Linked DNA regions of Homo sapiens: all the other regions are linked to region 5. Evidence: promoter capture Hi-C in 16 types of primary human blood cells and fetal thymus (Javierre and others, 2016). All regions are on one chromosome and are shown on one strand. The core of a region is centred on a gene start or on the middle of the fragment in contact, and the rest is flanking DNA. Distances in the headings are between cores, read along the strand shown. Region 1 overlaps LOC105376356 (a long non-coding RNA gene). Region 2 overlaps LOC105376360 (a long non-coding RNA gene). Region 3 has its middle 31 kb from the start of LINC00702. Region 4 overlaps LINC00702 (long intergenic non-protein coding RNA 702). Region 5 holds the start of KLF6 (KLF transcription factor 6). Region 6 overlaps LOC105376360 (a long non-coding RNA gene). Region 7 overlaps LOC105376360 (a long non-coding RNA gene).

What was found. The method cuts DNA at HindIII sites, captures the fragments that hold promoters and counts their contacts. A CHiCAGO score of 5 or more calls a contact.
Region 1: a contact is called between a fragment that was not itself captured here and the fragment with the promoter of KLF6 in region 5, in 1 of 17 cell types (neutrophils). The highest score is 5.2, in neutrophils.
Region 2: a contact is called between a fragment that was not itself captured here and the fragment with the promoter of KLF6 in region 5, in 1 of 17 cell types (neutrophils). The highest score is 5.4, in neutrophils.
Region 3: a contact is called between a fragment that was not itself captured here and the fragment with the promoter of KLF6 in region 5, in 1 of 17 cell types (neutrophils). The highest score is 7.0, in neutrophils.
Region 4: a fragment that was not itself captured here is called in contact with the fragment with the promoter of KLF6 in region 5 in 1 of 17 cell types (neutrophils); the score reaches 5.2 in neutrophils.
Region 6: a fragment that was not itself captured here is called in contact with the fragment with the promoter of KLF6 in region 5 in 1 of 17 cell types (neutrophils); the score reaches 5.9 in neutrophils.
Region 7: a contact is called between a fragment that was not itself captured here and the fragment with the promoter of KLF6 in region 5, in 1 of 17 cell types (neutrophils). The highest score is 5.7, in neutrophils.

Annotation. Positions count from the first base shown.
Region 1 is chr10:3,302,545-3,305,244 of GRCh38, reverse strand. It overlaps LOC105376356 (a long non-coding RNA gene), which reads left to right. Exons shown (of 3, transcript XR_930566.3): 3 at 1-122. Among named protein-coding and RNA genes, the nearest start is that of LINC02668, 46 kb to the right of the region's middle. The HindIII fragment of the contact is 1,087 bases long and covers 731-1,817 here.
Region 2 is chr10:3,337,452-3,340,151 of GRCh38, reverse strand. The region is part of intron 1 of LOC105376360 (a long non-coding RNA gene); the gene reads right to left. Among named protein-coding and RNA genes, the nearest start is that of LINC02668, 81 kb to the right of the region's middle. The HindIII fragment of the contact is 6,556 bases long and covers 1-2,700 here.
Region 3 is chr10:4,273,925-4,276,624 of GRCh38, reverse strand. No RefSeq gene overlaps it. Among named protein-coding and RNA genes, the nearest start is that of LINC00702, 31 kb to the right of the region's middle. The HindIII fragment of the contact is 4,067 bases long and covers 1-2,700 here.
Region 4 is chr10:4,219,954-4,222,653 of GRCh38, reverse strand. All of the region lies in intron 2 of LINC00702 (long intergenic non-protein coding RNA 702), which reads left to right. Among named protein-coding and RNA genes, the nearest start is that of LINC00702, 23 kb to the left of the region's middle. RefSeq lists an enhancer at 2,293-2,700. The HindIII fragment of the contact is 3,462 bases long and covers 1-2,700 here.
Region 5 is chr10:3,783,792-3,786,491 of GRCh38, reverse strand. KLF6 (KLF transcription factor 6) reads left to right here and starts at 1,283. Exons shown (of 4, transcript NM_001300.6): 1 at 1,283-1,579. The coding sequence starts at 1,478. RefSeq lists silencers at 374-433, 614-893, 1,144-1,743, a promoter at 545-1,482 and enhancers at 1,349-1,904, 1,905-2,461, 2,462-2,700. The HindIII fragment of the contact is 8,520 bases long and covers 1-2,475 here.
Region 6 is chr10:3,389,694-3,392,393 of GRCh38, reverse strand. The region is part of intron 1 of LOC105376360 (a long non-coding RNA gene); the gene reads right to left. It overlaps LOC105376358 (a long non-coding RNA gene), which reads left to right. Exons shown (of 3, transcript XR_930568.3): 3 at 1-693. Among named protein-coding and RNA genes, the nearest start is that of LINC02669, 110 kb to the left of the region's middle. The HindIII fragment of the contact is 4,211 bases long and covers 1-2,700 here.
Region 7 is chr10:3,362,322-3,365,021 of GRCh38, reverse strand. The region is part of intron 1 of LOC105376360 (a long non-coding RNA gene); the gene reads right to left. Among named protein-coding and RNA genes, the nearest start is that of LINC02668, 110 kb to the right of the region's middle. The HindIII fragment of the contact is 5,911 bases long and covers 1-2,700 here.

The DNA.
Region 1 (2,700 bases), core at 25-2,524, 480 kb after region 5:
AACTGGGTTTGGGCCCATGCTACGCAATCCAGACATGCCTGTAGCATCCTTTGAAGGGACTCAAGTCTGTAGGCGAAAGTGTGAGTCTAGGAGCCGGTGAATTTGCATCCAGAGAGGGGGGGATCTTGGGAAACATGGAGATACCCCCATTTCTACACATTTCAGTGTAGCTAATTCAAGATTGAAAAAGTAAGAATGAAGTATATCTGATTTTTCCAGTAAAAAAAAAAAAACCATCATAGCATGTCATCTGAAACTGCTGCTACTACAGAGAGATTAGCAGGATCTCAAAGTTAGTTAAGATTGGTGGAGGGTCTCTTTACTTACGACCACAAAGCTATTTAAATGCATATGTTCATGACATACAGAAAGGTTATTTGGAACTGGTTTCAGTTGAAGGACGGCTTTTTACCTAACAGTTTAGACTCAATATTGTCACCTCACTCCCTTTTCTCTCTCTTCCCCAGTCTTCCTCCATCTCTTTTCTCATTTTCTCTGTATTTTTCTTTCTTTCTCAGTACTCTGTCTCATAAAATTGTTCAATACTTTTCCTGGATTATTTAAGAAGTTAATAAAAACTCTCTGTCTTCCCTTTAGTTATTCAAAGGCTTCTATTAAATCGTTGAAGGAAATAAAAAGAAAACTGACAATAATAAAAATTGAACATGGTAAAGTTTGCTGTTGGCTAAAAACAAGCAGAAGAATCAAATTTCAAAACAATTTTAAAGCTTCCCAGGTTACCTGAAGGAAAATAGGGCTGCCTCTTCAAAAATTATGGTTGCACAGAGCATCCATGATGCAGAAGCTCTAATCAGTAAAACTCGATATGGGCAAAAAGTGAATCAATGAATTCAACTTTTGACAAATATTTAAATGGAAAAAATCAAATAGAATAATTTCATAAAAACATGTTTTCTAAAATGGTACACAAAGTTTAGAAATGAATTAAATTGCCTTGATGGAATTCATTTTCTCTATGCAAATTTGTCAATCTTGCCAAAAATTTGACTAAAATGTGCTTACATAGAAGGAATGTTTATGAGTACAGAAACCCTGAGAAGTTATAGTCACAGGAATTGCAATACTTTTCTCTTCTTGCACTATACACACACACACAAACACACACACAGAAGTCGTTTTGTGAAAATGGAATTAAATCAATGAGGGTGACACAATACCTCCTTTGCATTTCAAGTAAGGGACTTCTCCCCATTAATGGTAGGCTAGTATTGTAGGCTAAATTGTGTCTTCTCAACATTTATATGTTGAAGATGTAACCCCCACTATCTCCAAATGTGAGTGTATTTAGAGATAGGGTCTTTAAAGAGGTAATTAAGTTAAAATAAGGCTGATGGTGTGGGCCCTAATCCAGTTTGACTAGTGTCAAATGTGGACATTCAGAGACACCAGAGCACATGCAAAAAGATGGTGCTGTGAGAACAGTGAGAAGGTGACCTGTACAGGCCACGGAGAGGGGCCTCAGAAGAAGTCAAAACTGTCAACACCTTCATCTTGGACTTCCAGCCTCCAGAGCTGTGATCAAATAAATGTCTGTTGTTTAAGCTGCCTAACTGATGGGTTTTTGTTATGGCAGCCTTAGCAAACTCATACAATTAGGTGATGTTTGCCAAGTCTCTCACCCAGACAACTGAATACAGAGAATAAAATATATTTAATGTGTTTGAAATCACTGGAGAATAACAAGGCAATGAAGATACAATCCAGAAGAATGTAAAATCCATACTTATAAACCTGACATTTGAGTACATTTTCCTCCAAGGAGTTCCTCTGATTCTCAAAAGGGGGACTGAGAAGCTTACAAGCTGAGTGAAGCTTTTGGCAACCTTATTAGGGAAGGAGAGCAAATATCAGAGTCTAGGTCTGCCAACAGGAAGAACCCTAAAAGACTAAACCCTGGAAATAAAGATAAGCCAGAAAGACGTCAGCATTCACAGGAGCCCAAGTTCAGTTTAAAATCCTATGAGTTCCATAAATGGACTACGTTGTTGCAGGAATTCTACTGCTCCTGGCCACTGCCGAAAGCAATGTGCATTCTCTTTGAAGAAAGGTAATAACATCTTATGCATTTAATTAGACGTAAAGTTTTTTCATATACAATGTCTAGCACTCAATCAAAAACAATAGAGCACATAGAAGAAAAAAATGTAAAACAATGGACAATGGAAACAGAGAGGGATTTAGATGGTGTTATCAGATATGATTTACATACTTAATAAACTTTTTTTAAAGCGTTAAGGAACTGGAAACTATAAAGAAAGAACCAAATGGAAATTCTAGAACAAGATACAATAACCAAAATTAAGAACTCACGGCCAGGCATGGTGGCTCATGCCTGTAATCCCAGCACTTTGGGAGGCTGAGGTGGGTGGATCATGAGGTCAAGAGATCAAGACCATCCTGGCCAACATGGTGAAACCCCATCTCTATTAAAAATACAAAAAGTTAGCTGGGCGTGGTGGTGCATGCCTGTAGTCCCAGCTACTTGGGAGGCTGAGGCAGGAGAATAGCTTGAACCAGGGAGTCAGATGTTGCAGTGAGCCAAGATTGCGCCACTGCACTCCAGCCTGGTGACAGAGCGAGACTCCATCTAAAAAAAAAAAAAAAGAACTCACTGGGTAAGTGTAACAGCAGCTTAGATCCGTATGGAAAGAGAATTCATGAGCTGAAAGGTAGGTCAAG
Region 2 (2,700 bases), core at 198-2,697, 450 kb after region 5:
CAACTAAGGAAACCTCAGATAATTTCCAGAGAAGCCCATCACATGCAGCTTTCTTCGGACATTCAGCAGCCAGTTCTCAGATAGTCTGGATTTGTTTGTGAAGTGGCTCCCTCCCTGATGTTTGTGAGTGAGACTGAGTTAATTCCATTTAGACCGGAGACCGTTGTGTTTAGGGTGTCTCGTGAATTGCGAACTGCACAGGGAGCTGAGCGTGGTATCTCTCCACCTTCCTCCGCCCAGAGCCCTTGGCTATGGCAAGACCCTGCACCAGGCCTCCCAGCTAGGGAAGCAGCAGCTCCGTGTGCTGTGCATGTGGCTTCCTCGCTTCCTGGTGAGCACATCCTCTTATGGGCTTACTCATTTCTGTCTGAGAAAAATAAATAAAATACTAAATAGCATGAGAACAGCGAGACATTCATCTTGTTGTAGACAGTGATCACACAGCCAGGAACTGGGGTGAGCAGGGACCTCATTTCCAGACCCTCGGGATGCCTGGAGGCGGCTGGACAGCACCGAGTTTCTTAGCAAAGTAGCTATTGTTTAAAGAGCAAAAGGGCTACACAGGAAGGCAGCAGGCAGACTGGAAGAGCAGTGTCCACTTCACACATATCCCTGACACGCAGTGACCTTCCCGAAAATGGGCTCCGTGTATCGTCAGGTCTGGTGAGATGAGGTGTCACCAGGTGTTCCAAATCAAAAATGCATTTGTGCTGGGAATGGGGGAGCTTTCTAAAGTCAGATGCATCTGTGACATGGTGGAGGTTAATGGTGTTGAACAGAGCTCTTCAAGAAAACTTGTCCCACCCCACACGTAACCCTGGCCACACACAGCCACTGAGCCAGGGTGTCTTGTGAATCATACGGGTTCGGATTAAGATGCTCATAAGGCCAGGGTCAGTGGCTCATACCTGTAATCTCAGCTCTTTGGGTGGCCAAGGCCAGCCTGAGCAACAGACTGAAAGCTCATCTCTACAAAAAAATTGCTTTAAAAAAAGATGCTCATTAAATGCAAAAACGGACACTGGATTTCTTAGTCTTGATGTGAAAAAAGGAGTCAAAAATGCCTCATTGATGTGTTCCTACTGGTTACATAGTAAAGTGATAAGATTTTGAATGCACTGGGTTAAATACACCATTAAAATTGATTTTATCTGTTCCCTTTTTACTTTTATCAGTGTCGTTATGAGGAGATTTTAGTGGTACTTGTGATTTACCTTGTGTTTCTATTGGCCAGTGCTCAGACAGGACTTCTCACAATCTTTAATATGCCAAATTGCCTTGTGTGTCCCTAAGAGATGATGTAGCAGTCAGCATTTCCAAACTAACTTGACCCCTACACTCTATCTTATAGAACATTTGTCAATCTCCCTGACACAACAACTTTCCACAGTAAATGGTTTCAGAAACCTGTCATACCAACACTTGCATGTGAGGCTGGGTCCAATTCAGACTCAGCTACCTGCCACTTTCCATCTTCTGACAAATCCACAACAATTTTCTATGCATTTGCCTTATTTGTTAACTGAAATTATCAGATACAGCCGAGAGACCAGCACTATTGGTGATACATTTTTTAATGCTCAATTCATTCATCTTATAATCTGTCAAACAATTAATATTCTTTCAATATTAAACATCAATATTTCTAAATATTTACACATTTTTACAGATATTTAAACACTCAGTACAAATTTGTCCCATTCAACTAAAATATTATTAAAACCCATTGTTATATCTGTCCATTAGACACAATTATTTTAAATGTTTCGATCATCTTTAAAAGTGTACAGAAAAAGGTCAGATGAGGTGGCTCATGCCTCTAATCCCAGCACTTTGGGAGGCCAAGGTGGGTGGATCACCTGAGGTCAGGAGTTCAAGACCAGCCTGACCAACACTTGGTGAAACCCCATCTCTACTAAAAAGACAAAAAATTAGCTGGGTGTGGTGGTGGGCGCTTGTAATCCCAGCTCCTTGGGGGGCTGAGGCAGGAGAATTGCTTGAACCCAGTAGGCGGAGGTTGCAGTGAGCTGAGATCGCACCACTGCACTCCAGCCTGGACTCCATGCTGAGTGACAGAGACTCTGTGCTTGCCACCCTCCACCCCCACCCGCCGCCCCACCCCCGCCAAAAAAAAAAGTTACAGAAAAAATATTCGACTATGAAGTGAATTACAAGAGTCGTTGTTAGAAATATGCCGCTCAGCTGGTTTCAAAAGTACTCACATTTCAACTCAACCTCAGTTAGGAGGTGGATTTTTGCATGTGTTGGATAATTAAGTCCTGAGTTTGGTTGAACTTGGAAAGTATATCAGAAAAGTAGAATGAGCAAAGACCCAAAAGGAAAGAAAAGCCACAGCCACATTTGGGAAACCCAGCCACAGGTGGAGGACTGGGGAATGCCATGGCCTCCTGTACAGCAGGAGATGTGGGCAGGTGTCCTGTCTTCAAGGCTACCCTGGAAGACCTGGGGCCTCAAAGCAGCACTTTTGTGGGCTCACACCTGAACACTTCAGCAGAAAGACGCAAAGGAAAGATGTGTATGTAGTTCTCTCAGAAATTTTTTTAAAATGGTACCATAAAATCAATCTTTTAAAAATGTGTGTGTATGTTTTTAGCCAAAAAGCTCTAAGCCAAGTGTGTCCAACCCGCAGCCTGTGGGCTGTATATAAGCCAGGATGGTTTTGAAAGTGTACCAGCAAAA
Region 3 (2,700 bases), core at 131-2,630, 490 kb before region 5:
TGTAGTTGAGAAGTAAACGTTGAAACACTTTTAGGTTGAGTACATTTCTGAGCCCAAATGCAGGGATGGAGAATGCTACTTCCTAAGTTTTTCATCATAATTCCTTGCAGGGGAGAGGGCATGAGGCTTCTCACTGTGCACTGCACACTTCTAATGTGAGGTCTAATGCAGAGTCCTGGATGAGCAGGGGAGAGAAAAAGAGAGAAGCCGTGGAATCTGACTGCTGTGGGCCTGGCGTTCTAAGTGCACACTCCACAAGCGAGGGCCACAGCCATGTGCAGGTCACACAGTCCTCTGAGCAGCAGCCTCCTCCCCTATCAAACGGGGATCACAAGGGCAGGCTTTTCACAGGATGACCATGATGACAAAATGAGGATGCATGGGAGACAACTCTAAGGACAATACTGCTCCATAAAATTCATTGAGTATTGTTATTGCTTCTGTTGTTTTTCACCTGCAACCTCTGGCACCCAAATTGTAGCATCCTCTTCAGCTGTGAGCTGCCGCATTTACTCACTTATCTCCTTTATGCTGAACAGTATTGAAAGTGTTTTTCAGGGTAGGCAGGTTTAAGGCAGGGACAAAAGTAGATACCCTTCTTCTCTGAACACTTTAAAACATATCTGCTTCATATGAATTAGTAATTAAGTACCATAGTCCTGCCTTATCCACAGTTTCACTTTTCACAGTTTTAGTTATTGGTGATACAGTGAAATAAGAGAGACCAAATTTAGATAACCTTTTATTATAATATATTGCTATAATTGTTCAATTTTATTATTAGTTATCATTGTTAATGTCTTACTCTGCCTAATTTGTACATCAAACTTGGTCATAGATTTGTAGGTATAGGAAAGAACATGGAGTATGTGGGGCTTGGTAGCATTGGAGGTTTCAGGCATACACCCGGGGTATTGGAATGTATCCCCCATGGATAAGGTGAGAACTGTTGTTAACATTAGGCTAAGAATCTTAATCCTTACTATTTCAGTATCATTTTAATTTTCAGACAATTGATAGAGGTAAAAGTCATGTGAGTAAAATTTTTCAATTCACAGGATAATAGAAAATAAAATAATATCCCAAGATTTAAAGAATGAACAGATATTGTATGTTGATATTTTGTAGGTTATATATAATCTCAGTTTTGTTTTTTTTTCTAAATACAGTAAGAAAGTAGCCTAGGTCAATTTAAAACTAATTATCACAGAAGTTTTGACTCAATGTAGAAATTGTCAAAATTGTATTCTCTCAAAAAAACAGTTTTGATAATGTTATCAAGTTTCCTAACTAGAAAATGCTGATTATTGACAAGATCATATTATAATGGTTTTCCTTGAAGGAAAAGGGGGAACACAGTACATTAGTTTTTAAAGTTGTTTAAGATATACATGACTACAAGTTATACTTTTTAAATTTTTTTTAAATTTTAAGCTCTCGGGTACATGTGCAGGAAGTGCAGGTTCATTACGTAGGCAAACATGTGCCATGGTGGTTTGCTGCACCTATCAACTCATTACCTAGGTATTGAGCCCAGCATGCATTAGCTGTTTATCCTGATGATCTCCCTCCCCCCATCCCCCAACAGACCCCAGTGTATGTTGTTCTCCTCCCTGTATCCATTCTCATCATTCAGTTCCCAGTTATAAGTGAGAACATGCAGTGTTTGGTTTTCTGTTCCTGCATTAGTTTGCTGAGGATAATGGCTTCCAGCTCCATCCATGTGCCTACATAAAACATGGTCTCATTCCTTTTCATGGCTGTGTAGTATTCCATGGTGTATATGTACCACATTTTCTTTTTCCAGTTTATCACTGATGGGGATTTGGGTTGGTTCCATGTCTTTGCTATTGTTAATAGTGCTGCAATAAACATACTCATGCATGTATCTTTGTAATAGAATTATTTATATTCCTTTGGGTATATACCCAGTAAGGAGATTGCTGGGTCAATAGAGTGGGATAAAATTTTTACAATCTGTCCATCTGACAAAGGTCTAATGTCAAGGATCTACAAGGAACTTAAACAAATTTACGAAAAAAAATTCAAACAACTCCATTTAAAACTGGGCTAAGGAAATGAACAGAAACTTCTCAAAAGAAGACATTCATGTAGCCAACAAACATGTGAAATAAAACTCAACATCACTGATCATTAGAGAAATTCAAATCAAAACCACAGTGAGATATCATCTCACTCCAGTCATAATGGCGATCATCAATAAATCAGAAAACAACAGATGTTGGCGAGGTTGTGGAGAAATAGGAATGCTTTTACACTTTTGGTGAGAACATAAATTAGTTCAACCATTGTGGAAGATGGTGTGGCTATTCCTCAGAGATATTATACTTCTTATTCAGTCTTTACTTTTTAAAATTTTGCTTGCTTCGTTATAGACTAAAAGTCTATTGTGTACTAAGATGAGGTAATATTTGTGTTCTCATCTAAAGTTGTCCTGGACATTTCAAAAGTGCATAGTCTGCAGGTTTTGGCTATTAAAATTGTATGACTTTTTTGTTGGTCAGAGTTTTCCAGAGAAACAGAAATCACAGGATGTTTCCATATGTAGATGTATAAGTAGAATAAGGAATTGGCTCACATGACTATAGAGGCTAAGTCCCATGATCTGCCATCTTTAAGCTGGAGACACAGGAAAGTCGGTGGTGTAAATTCCAGTCTGAGTCTCACAGCCTGAAAATC
Region 4 (2,700 bases), core at 93-2,592, 440 kb before region 5:
AAATATTTATTGGACACCAACTACAACCTGGCACTAGATGTTGAGACTAGATGGGTGATTAGACATGCTTTTTGCCCTCATGAAATTGTAGACTACTTTTAAAAATATTCAGTTTACCATAATTATATGTTCTGGGAAAGTTGTTACCATATGGGTTTTTTTTTTTAACAAATCCTATTTTCCGTAGGGAATAATATACCTATTAGAAAAAATGGGGCAGAATAAAGTGAATATTTTTATGCATTTTAAGCACAAATTAAATATATTTTCTTCAAATGTATATTTGATCAATTGATATTTGATTCATACATAATGCATAAAATGTTCTTAATACTCTCTGAAATTTGAATAAAAACAAAGACATAATTGCATAAAAAGGCAGACAGTCTCAATATGTTATAATAAATAAATAATGTTTGCTTTACAGAGGCTCATTTATAAGAACAGAAGCAACTTACTATTTTCTGGGAGAAGAAAAGTCTTTTCTGAGAACAGCTGATAAAATTTCATTCCTTTTGAGTTTTCTGAACTTGTCCAATCCCTGTTGAAGTATATTTTTAAACTTATGACTAGATTTTCAATTCTACAGATAAGTAATACCTAGAAAATATATTTGCATCAATGTGCTTATTTTTGCCAGCTTTGACAAAAAAAAGCTGTATTTTAACTAAATAAAAATAAAAACCTTCCTTTTATTTAGGTTTTACATATGATATTCTTCATATGTGAAGCTGTGAATCCACCATCCCAGGGCTTGAATTTTTCTTCATTGGTCATGATGGATTTATGTCTATTTCTCCTCATCAACTGATATCAAAGAAGTTGTAGGATATCTCAGGGGGCTGACAAAAGGAATCTGTGGTTAAGAAACACAACACAGATTGTTGCCCCTGAAAGCTATCCTTGAGCTAGACCTTTGAAAAGAGTTCTTTGCCCACTTAACCACCCCGATTTACTTTCAATTATGCACTTAAAAAATAAAGTAAAATTTCTACAGTTGAAGGAAGAGTATGTTTTGATATAGTTTGGCTGTGTAGCCACCAAATCTCATTTCGAATTATAACCCCCATAATCCCCACATGTCAAGAGAGACCAGGTGGAAGTAATTGAGTCATGGGGCAGATCTTTCCCATGCTGTTCTCATGACAATGAATAAGTCTCATGAGATTTGTGGTTTTATAAAGGGGAGTTTCCCTGCACAAGCTCTCTTGCCTGCTGCTATGTAAGATATGACTTTGCTTCTCCTTGGCCTTCCACCATGATTGTGAGACCTCCCCAGCCATGTGGAACTGTGAGTCCATTAAACCTCTTTTCTTTATAAATTACCCAGTCTCAGATATGTCTTTATTAGCAGCGTGAAAACAGACCAATACAGTTTATAACCAAATATGCCCAGGCCACTTCCAGTGTGTGAGGAGGAGACACCAGCCTGTCGATGCCATGCCTGCACAGGGTCTCCACCAAGAAAGCACAAACGTGCATTTTTCACTGCCCAGCATTTTGCAATTCTTTATTTTTATATTAATCATTTCAATCTCGTTTTGCATGTCATTTTATTCATACATTTTAATTCTCCTTCCTTTAAAGTACGTCAGCTTATTCATTGCTATTATTATTGCATTTCATAGTCAATGCTTATCTAGAGTTATTTATCCATTTATTCACTCTCTTTTGCTTCTTTGAAATGTATTAGATCCTCTCATCTATCTCTTATCTCATTTTTTTTTCTTTCTCTGTTTCTCACTTGAGAAGAATATGTATGCTTCTCGCGTCAATTATCTTTTGAGTAAGGTCTCTAATCCTGACCATCCACCCATACCTGAGTTTTGACATTTTTGTATCAATTTGATATTCCTGTAAGACTGACCCACTTTTAACTTCCTCATATTCCAGACCTGCACAGCATGTTCATCTTGCTAGACATCCTCTCTACTTCCTTTCTGGCAGTAACATTATTTCAGTAGCCCACCAGCAAGTTTCCTTCTTTCTGGCTTTTCTTTTGTTTAAATGCTTTTGTTTACCTGCTGTCTTAATCAGGGGTGTCCAGAGAATCAGAAGCAATGGGGGATATAGACATATATCCCATATATTTCCTATATATGTATCTATCTATATAGATAGTTATCAATTTATATCTATATAGTTATCAATATATCTATATAGTTATCAATTTATATCTATCTATATATCTATATAGATAGAGATATTTATAGATACTAGCTAGATACAGATATATAGATATCTATATCTATATGTATGTATTTATTATGGAAAATTGGAGCTGGAGACCCAGGAAAGCAGGTGGTGTGACTGCAGTGCGAGGGCAGGAGAAAACCTTTGTTCCAGCCAAATGCTGGGGCAGAAAAAGGAAGGGGGCAGGGTAGAATTCTTTCTCCCTTAACCTTTTGTTTTATTCAAGTCCTTGAGGAATTGGATGATGCCCACTCACTTTGTGGAGGGTAATCCGAATCCACTTTACTAAATCCACCAGTTCAAATGTTAATCTCATCTAGAAACACCCTCACAGACGCTCCTAGAAGTAATGTTTAATCTGGGCACCACATGTCCCGATCAAGTAGACAATAGGATTAGCCATGCTCCCTGCTATGTCATATCATTCATGTCATTGCAATGCAATCACTGGTTTTACACAACCCTTCTAATGACCAGAATTTGGACTCCTTAATTTCAGAGACTTAT
Region 5 (2,700 bases), core at 34-2,533:
ACAGCCACATGCTTCTGCCGGACCCTCTAAAACTTAACATACAAAACCCTCTAATTTTTTTTTACATAGTCCATTCTTTCAAAATGTTTAATGTTCATTAAACTATTTTGAAACAAAAACTATAATACAGTTACAATTCAGTTTTCCATTTTGGATTTTAAAATGCTCTGGTTCGAGTCTCGACATTTTTCTTAAAAATGAACATTACGGTATATTTTAGGAGATAATTTATATGGAAAAAAACACACACACTAAATGTCGGCTTGCACCTAAATTGTTTACACGTTCATGGGAAAACCTAGCTGTTAACCTTGGTGAGGGCTAAGATCGCCCTCTACAAGATAAACACGTTTCTCCCAATTCCAAGGGGAGCCTGCGTGCTCCCCTCCCCCACTCTGGTGGCCCGGAGGACAGAGGGGACCCTAGGACTGGAGGGGGACGGAGACGGGCTCAGGGATGGAGGGGGACAGAGAGGGACCCGGAGGTGGAGGAGGACAGAGAGGGGTACCCCAAGGTTAGAGAACAGAGGATGACTAGGGGGATGTAGGGAAACAGAGCGGCGCAGAAGAGGACAGTTGGGGACGGGGCGGCCCCGGGCATAGAAGGGGACAGTTGGCGACCGGGAAGCCCCCGGCGTAGAAGGGGACAGTTGGGGACGGGGCGGCCTCGGGCATAGAAGGGGACGGGGGGGAACCGGGCGGCCCCGGGACCGGACGGCCGCCCGCAGGGTGAGCTGCCGGAACCGGGGCTCGCGCGGCGACAGGGCCCGGCTTGGTGACCGGGACGGGCGTGGGGTGGCGGGACCGGGCAGCGGGGAAGAGAGACCGGGACTGGGGACAGGCGACGCGGCCCGCCCCGGCTCTCCCAGCCCCGGCTCCCTTAGCTCCGGCCGCGGGCGCAGTGCAGGGCTCGGCCGCGCACCTCACAGCGCGGACTCCTCCGGCGCGCGGCCGCCCGCGCCTTATATACCCTGCTAAAAATAGCCTGCGAGGCCACTTTCCAATCAGAACGAGCAGAGTTCGAATTGAGCCAATGGTGCGGGCCGTGATGGAGAGTCTCGGTCACGCCAGGCGGGGCCGCTGTGTGTCGCCGCCTGCGATTGGCCGGAGCTGACATCATCGGCGCGCAGCCCCCGGGCCGGGAGCCACGGGATTGGGCCGCGCACGGGGCGGGCGCGGGGCGAGTCACGTGGGGGGAGGGGGAGTGGGGGGAGCCAGGCGGGGGCGGAGGGGGAGGCTGGCAGCGGAGCTTTGAATAGGGAAGTTTTGCAGGGGTTACGTTTGCAGTCAGTCCGGTGTTTGCAAATATTGTGTGGGCTCCGCGCGCTGCGGGCTGCGGGAGGGTCCGGCCGGGCGTCTCTGCGAGCCTGGAGTTTGCATGAAACTTTCACCTGCGCTCCGGGGAGACTTTCGGCTCCGGCTCCCACCGCGCGCCTCGCCGCCCTCGCGACCGCGGGCTCCGTCCAACCCGGCCCGACATGGACGTGCTCCCCATGTGCAGCATCTTCCAGGAGCTCCAGATCGTGCACGAGACCGGCTACTTCTCGGCGCTGCCGTCTCTGGAGGAGTACTGGCAACAGGTAAACGCAGCCGGCCGCGGTTCCCTGCGGGCGCCGGGGCGCGGGCCGGGTCGGCTGTTTGGGGTTCAGACCCGGTGCTCTCTGCGGTCCGCTGGGCCTGGGCCCCGCGCTGTCACCGGGGGAGCGGGCGCAGCGCCCCCGCCGATCGATCCTCCAGGCTGCGATCAGCGTCCGCCCAGGGAAGCCCCAACTCCCGGCACAGCCCGGCCGAGCCCCTGGCACGAGTTCGGAGCCTGTCCCCGCTCCAGACGCCACAGCTGGAGCTTGTCATGGGGACCAACTTGCTCTGCCTGCCAAGGTGTTTTTTTTTTGTTTGTTTGTTTTTTGTTGTTTTTTTTTAACGGATTTTGTTTTTGTTTTGTTTCTTGGTGCTTGTACTTAACAGTTTTTTAAAAAAATCACATTTTGCCCCCAGAACGTAGACCAGCTCTCTTTTATTTTTGTCTTTTTTAAACTGTAGACCATTTCCAATGTGTTTTCTGCTCTTTGGAATGCCTAACATTTCCCCTAGATCTGCCTTATTTGTCTTCCCTGCTTCTCTTGTTGACCAAGAAAAATAAAAATAAAACTGTGTACACCCCAGTGACTTGTCAGTCTTGTGACAATGAGCCCGTCCAAACTGCTTCAAGTCTTAGTTTGGAAAGAAGGACCTCGGTTTCCGACATTGTCGTAGAACTGGAATTTGGGGGCATTGGAAATTTAAGAAACTTACCAGGTCCCCGTGCTTATAGGTAGCATCGCCCGAGGGGAGAGAGACTGACACTCCTCCCATTGTCTCTCCAGCGATCGCAGGAGGGTTTACTGTTGTCTCCCTGCCCTGCTGTGCTGTTTGTTTTTCGTCACAAAGTGAATTGCCAGATCAAATAGAGGCTGTGGGTTTCCAAGCCTCGAAAGCTTTAAGGAAGATGAAATGCAGGGTGTTGCAACCTTCACACGCCTGCTTAATTGTTCACAGTCCTCTCCTGCCTTTTCCCCCTCCCCCTCCTGTTTTTTTCCTCCTCAAAGAAGCTGCTCCCTAGGACGTGATTGAAATTGATCTAAGTAGTTTCCTTCGGGCGTTTGGGATTTGGGCAAACGGCCAGACCTGGCTCTTGGTCGCCTTTGGAGGCTTTTAAACTCTC
Region 6 (2,700 bases), core at 156-2,655, 390 kb after region 5:
GAATGTTTGGGGGAAATTGGCAGACCTTAAGTCTTGAATTTTCTGGGACCTTCCCTCTATTCTTCTCACTTTCAGCTAGCATCTTCCATGCCGTGGTATACAGCATGATAGGGTTTGAACTACACATGTTGCTCCTCTTATTATAAATGCCTAATCCTTAGCTGAAACTATTTGTCACAATAATATCCTGTAGTGAAGACTTTTACAAGATAATTACATGGTGAGTAAACAAGGCAGTGTTGTCTTTTATCTGTTCTAAATGGGATGTCTTCTAATTTTATCACCTACCTTTTGTTCATATATTATTGGGCAGGGTAAATAAGAATCACTGAACAGCCTTTCTAAATCATTTGTTATTATCCATGCTACTATTTCTATAAACTAATGAGCAATATTTAGTGCTTACGATCTTCCCACTTTATAAACATCAGCTTTCATTGTTTCTGCATTAGGTGGAGGAAATATTGAGCCCAGCTTTCCCTTTGAATGCTTACAAGGTTGCTTGTAAAATATTCTTCTGATGACACAGACTGGAGAGAACTGTGTCTTTAACCTATTGCATTTAACCCAGGGATGCTCACTGCTAGCTGAGGGTGGCCCAAAATGGAGGCCACAAATGAACCTCTTCTCTACTCTTCTTTCCTTTTATCCTCTCCTTTCCTTTCTCCTTTCCCTTCCCTTCCCTCCCCTCCTCCCCTACCCTCTCCTTTTTCTTTCCTTTTCTTTCCTTTTTTAAAATTTTTTCTTTCTTTCTTTCCTTCCTTCCTTCCTTCCTTCCTTCCTTCCTTCCTTCCTTCCTTCCTTCCTTCCTCCTTTCCTCCCTTCTAACATTTATGGACACATTACCATGAACACAGTGGACGCTGTTGTTAATTCCATCTTAAAAATGAGGAAAATGAGGTTTTAAGAAGTTAGGCAACTCATCTGATGTTACACATCTGAGAGGTAAGAAAGCTGTACTGAAACCAGGATCACCTGACCCTGTGATACAGCCTGTCACTCATTCACTTCATGTCTCTCAGAGATCTCTTCACGTGCCAGTCTCACTGCTCGGAGGAGCACAGAAGTCTCATTGGAGAATATCTGGGTAGTACCAGATAGGGAACCTGTCCTCAGAAAGCCACCTTTCTCACCCAGATACCCCTTCGGCTACTTGATAGATCACCTGTCACGCCCATCACCTGTGCCTATGGTCAGCGTCTCCCCACACTTGCAGCTGCTCTCAGTGACTAGGGCAAAGTCTGACTTTGAAAGCTCATTTCAGGTGCTATGCACGTGACAGTGTACCAGCAATGTCTGGCTTGTTCCTTCTCCCATTCCTTCAGGGGTGGTCAACCAATTCTGAGAAGGAAGCCCTGCCCCCATTCCTCCATCCCCACATCCCCGTCGTCCTCGGCTCCCAGCTCTGCCCTTCCATTTCTGGCATGCCGGTGGGTCGAGCATTGTCTGCCTTCTGGGGAACACAAACCCTTTTGAGTTGTTGGGAAGTTTCTGATGCGTGAGTTGTTGGGAAGTTTCTGATGGGGTCAGCTCTGGTTCTCATGGGCCATTAAAGTTGGATTGTTGAGGGCTAGAAAGGAAGACAAAAGTGCATGTCCTGAGTGGAGGTATGAAGGGTGAATGGGGACCGGACCCTGAATGGATGCCCTGAGCAAGCGAGGGGTCTACCAGATGGAAGCCCAGAGGTCCGAGCTGATGTGGAGGACAATGGACAGGGAGGGGCAGTGCCCACTGCTTGTGCAATGGTAAGAAAATGTACAGAGGGAAGGACAAACCCCAGGAGCTTTGCTCAAATACCCAGCCGCCCTGGGACTCCCAGACACGCAGGCCCAGCCTACAGTCAGGCACCCAGCCAGGTAAAGCGCCCATCCCTGGAAGGGGGTTTTTGCCCCATTGCTACTGGAGTTCATCATTGGTGGTTTATTATGATGGAGCTTGGACAAACTACAAATGGGCACTGGGTGTATCTAATGCTGTATGTGAATACTATTCATTTTTTAAAAGTATATAATTCAAATAAACATTCTTTAATAAAAATGAAAAAAAGAAATAGTGTTAAAAGCACCAAAATTGTGTGTTATAATATTGCATGTACAATGAGATAAAGGTGATAGCCCTACCTGGTGTACAAATACTTAACTCTAAAGTCCTGAGTGTAAAAAACAAGAAATACAAAGCCATACAATAACTACAATGCAGAAAAGTTGCACTACAGAGCAAAAGGCAACAGTGAAGACGTTTGGAGATTTTATAGCATTTCTGTAAGTACTGCAAATCCCCACACTGGCTGCCAGGACCCCTGGCCGGATGGTGATCATGGTGCTGGGGTGTTGGTTAGATTGCACCTCCAGGGTAGCAGAGGGTGTTTGCTAATTATTGGAGTGGAGATGGTTACCAAGCCGCCTGTCTCTGAAAATCTTGCAGAGATATTTTCTTTGTACCACAAGGCTAAAATTAAGCAGTGCGATGTTTTGTGATATAAAAGTGTGGGTTTCTCGGCCAAAGAGTTTCCCAAAACTGTCACTGCCAGACTTTCCCAGGGACCAGCACTCCAGAGGGTTAAAACAGTTTCCCATCAGTGACTGTCTTTCAAGAGGTCAGCTGTGTGTGTGTGTGTGTGTGTGTGTGTGTGTGTGGTTGTGTGTGTTTGTACACAGATGTGTGTGTCACAGGAGAATTTTTTTTTAAACAAGTGATTTG
Region 7 (2,700 bases), core at 191-2,690, 420 kb after region 5:
CGACTGCACTTTGCCCTTTCCGACACCCAGGTTGCAGCCCCACGGCTCATTTAAGGGAAGGCAAAGCTCCTGTGGCTGTAGGACTCTGAGAAGCTCGCATGCCTCTGGCAAATTAAACACTGTGATCTGTTCTCTGCAGAGTCCTTCCAGGGCTGGCTTTTCCTCCTGCTCAGTGGCTCACAGAGGAGGCTGCTTTTTCAAACCAAGTAGCCTATGGAAATATTAAAGACACTATGAATAATGATGCTTGTTCTTCATTATTGTATTTATTTTAGTTTCTAGCACTTCAGTTAGTTTGTAACTTTAGTTAGTTTACAGCACTTGATCAACTTACAATTCACAAATAACACTTTCACCTCTGGAGGGAGGACTGGAGTTCCAAAGATCTCCACTTGAATTCCGGCGTTCTGTTTGTTGGACAAGGGCATGTTATTTGCTGGGTCTCTGTTTTTCCTTTCTTCTCCCACAGTAAAGTATAGATTCATAAAAGTACCTAGCACATAGACTGGGCACGGTGGTTCACACCTGTAATCCCAGCACTTTGGGAGGCCAAGGTGGGCGGATCACCTGAGGTCAGGGGTTTGAGACCAGCCTGACCAATATGATGAAACCCCGCCTCTACTAAAAATACAAAAATTAGCCGGGCGTGGTGGCATGCGCCTGTAATCCTAGCTACTCAGGAGGCTGAGACAGGAGAATCGCTTAAACCCGGGAAGCGGAGGTTGCAGTAAGCCGTGATTGTGCCATTGCACTCCAGCCTGAGCAACAGGAGCGTAAACACCATCTCAAAAAAAAAAGTACCTAGAACAGAGGTGAATCTCAGGACAAGTGGAATCTGGGGTTTTGTCTACCGCCTCAAGTAAGGAAAAGCAGAGATGCCATCACTTGCTTAAAAAGACCACCCAGCTAATGAAGGTGGGGCTTGGATAGGAGCAAAGGTTCTGCGGAGTGAGCCCTTGTTCAGGAGGACTGCTAGGTCAAAACTACTTGTTTAATGCTAAACAAATCATTGTTTAGGATTATTGTTACAAAATACTATTATAGTCACAACACATGACTCTTCATAGTATTATTCCAAGACTTTCCTGCCTTCACTCTCATTCTCTCTTGAATGTACAGTGGAGTATTCCAGAGGTTATGTGATGTACACTAGTGCAGTGTATTGAATGTGAAAGCAGAGAAGACCCAGCTGTCTTGCATTAAGCCAGACATGAACAATTTGCAAAAATGTAAAATAATGCCATTCTTATCTCTAATTTTGTTGGAGATTATAATGACTTTTCATAAAAATATTTATATTAACATGTAGTTGGGTCATTGTTCTTATTTGTAAATAAAGTAATAAACAAATATCTTAAAATGTTCACAGTTTAAAATTTAAATTTGGCAAATAGAGATAAATGTAAGCACATAGCAATAGCTCTGGAAAGCCACATTTTTTCAGAGCGTAGAGAGATCCCGAGACCACAAAGTTTTCAGTACCGCTGAATCTGAGAGTGTTTCTCAAACTCTGATGAGTGTATCCATGACCAGGGCCTTGTTGCAATGCAGATTCTGGGACAGCTGGTCCAGGAGAGGCCTGAGAATCTTACCCTTGGTAAATGTGGCTGTTGAGCTCAACATAGTTCACTGTCAGAGCTTGGGAGGAATGGGAGGTTAAGTTGGAGCCATGGCCTGTCTGCTGTGACGCTGTGTCCCTGGGGGAAAGGGAAGCCTCTCTGTGTCCTACAAACCCTCTCCAGAGTCCAGTGGGGTGAGGCCTCATGTGCCCAGCCACTAAGCGGGCATGACACATGGGGAAGACAGTAAACAAAAACAAAAACCATGTCAAGCAAATCCACGTTGGCTTCAGGGTTAGGGCGTCCTGGTTATCCTGGCAGTTTGAGAGAGAGGCTGTCAGCATGGGGTACACAGGGGGTTTTTAATTTGGGATTAGATCCCTTTTGTTCTCATTTACTTTGTTGATCTTTTTATTCTTTTTTCTTGTCCTCCTCATAGTGTTCATTGCAAAGCATTAGTTTTCTTCTCCATGTTTTTCTATTCCTTGACTAAAAATTAGTTTAGATTATTAATAGAGATATCATATCTTCAAAGTTCATAATGTTTAACTAGCATTGGCTTATGGTAGGGCAGGCTCCAAGATCTCCTCTGCTGCAGGGACAGATGGTGGTGGTCAGGTAAACCCAAACAGCACCGATAACCTCACCAGTGGCTCTGGGAGGGGGAGAAAAAGGAAGGTTTATCATCTACTGGAGAGAAAGGTATGAGAGTTGGAGAAGACAAAGACATTGAATTCAAATTACCTTCACTTTATGAACTAGGACATTAAGTGTTCAATACCCACAGGTTTCCATGGTAGCTGTCAGTCCTGACTCAGATTTCACAGGAACAGAGGTGAGGAATTAGTCAGAGGGTCCCCACTGTCACAGAGGAAGAGTGTGTGGGCTCTTCAATCTTGTGAGAGTGTACATCAGCCTCTCCAAACAAACACAGTTAAAAAATAAAGGGAGGAAAGCTGTCAGTTGAGGGCCTTGAGTGTACTTAGTGGATAAAATACTTTGTTCCTCATGGAATAAATCTCTCCACTGACAGATTCAGAGCAACACTCTCCTTTAATGAGAGTTAAATGCCTATTTCCTATGCTCTGATTGGAATATTTCCTCTGTATGCCTCTAGAAAGGCTTGTTCTAATAAGGTATG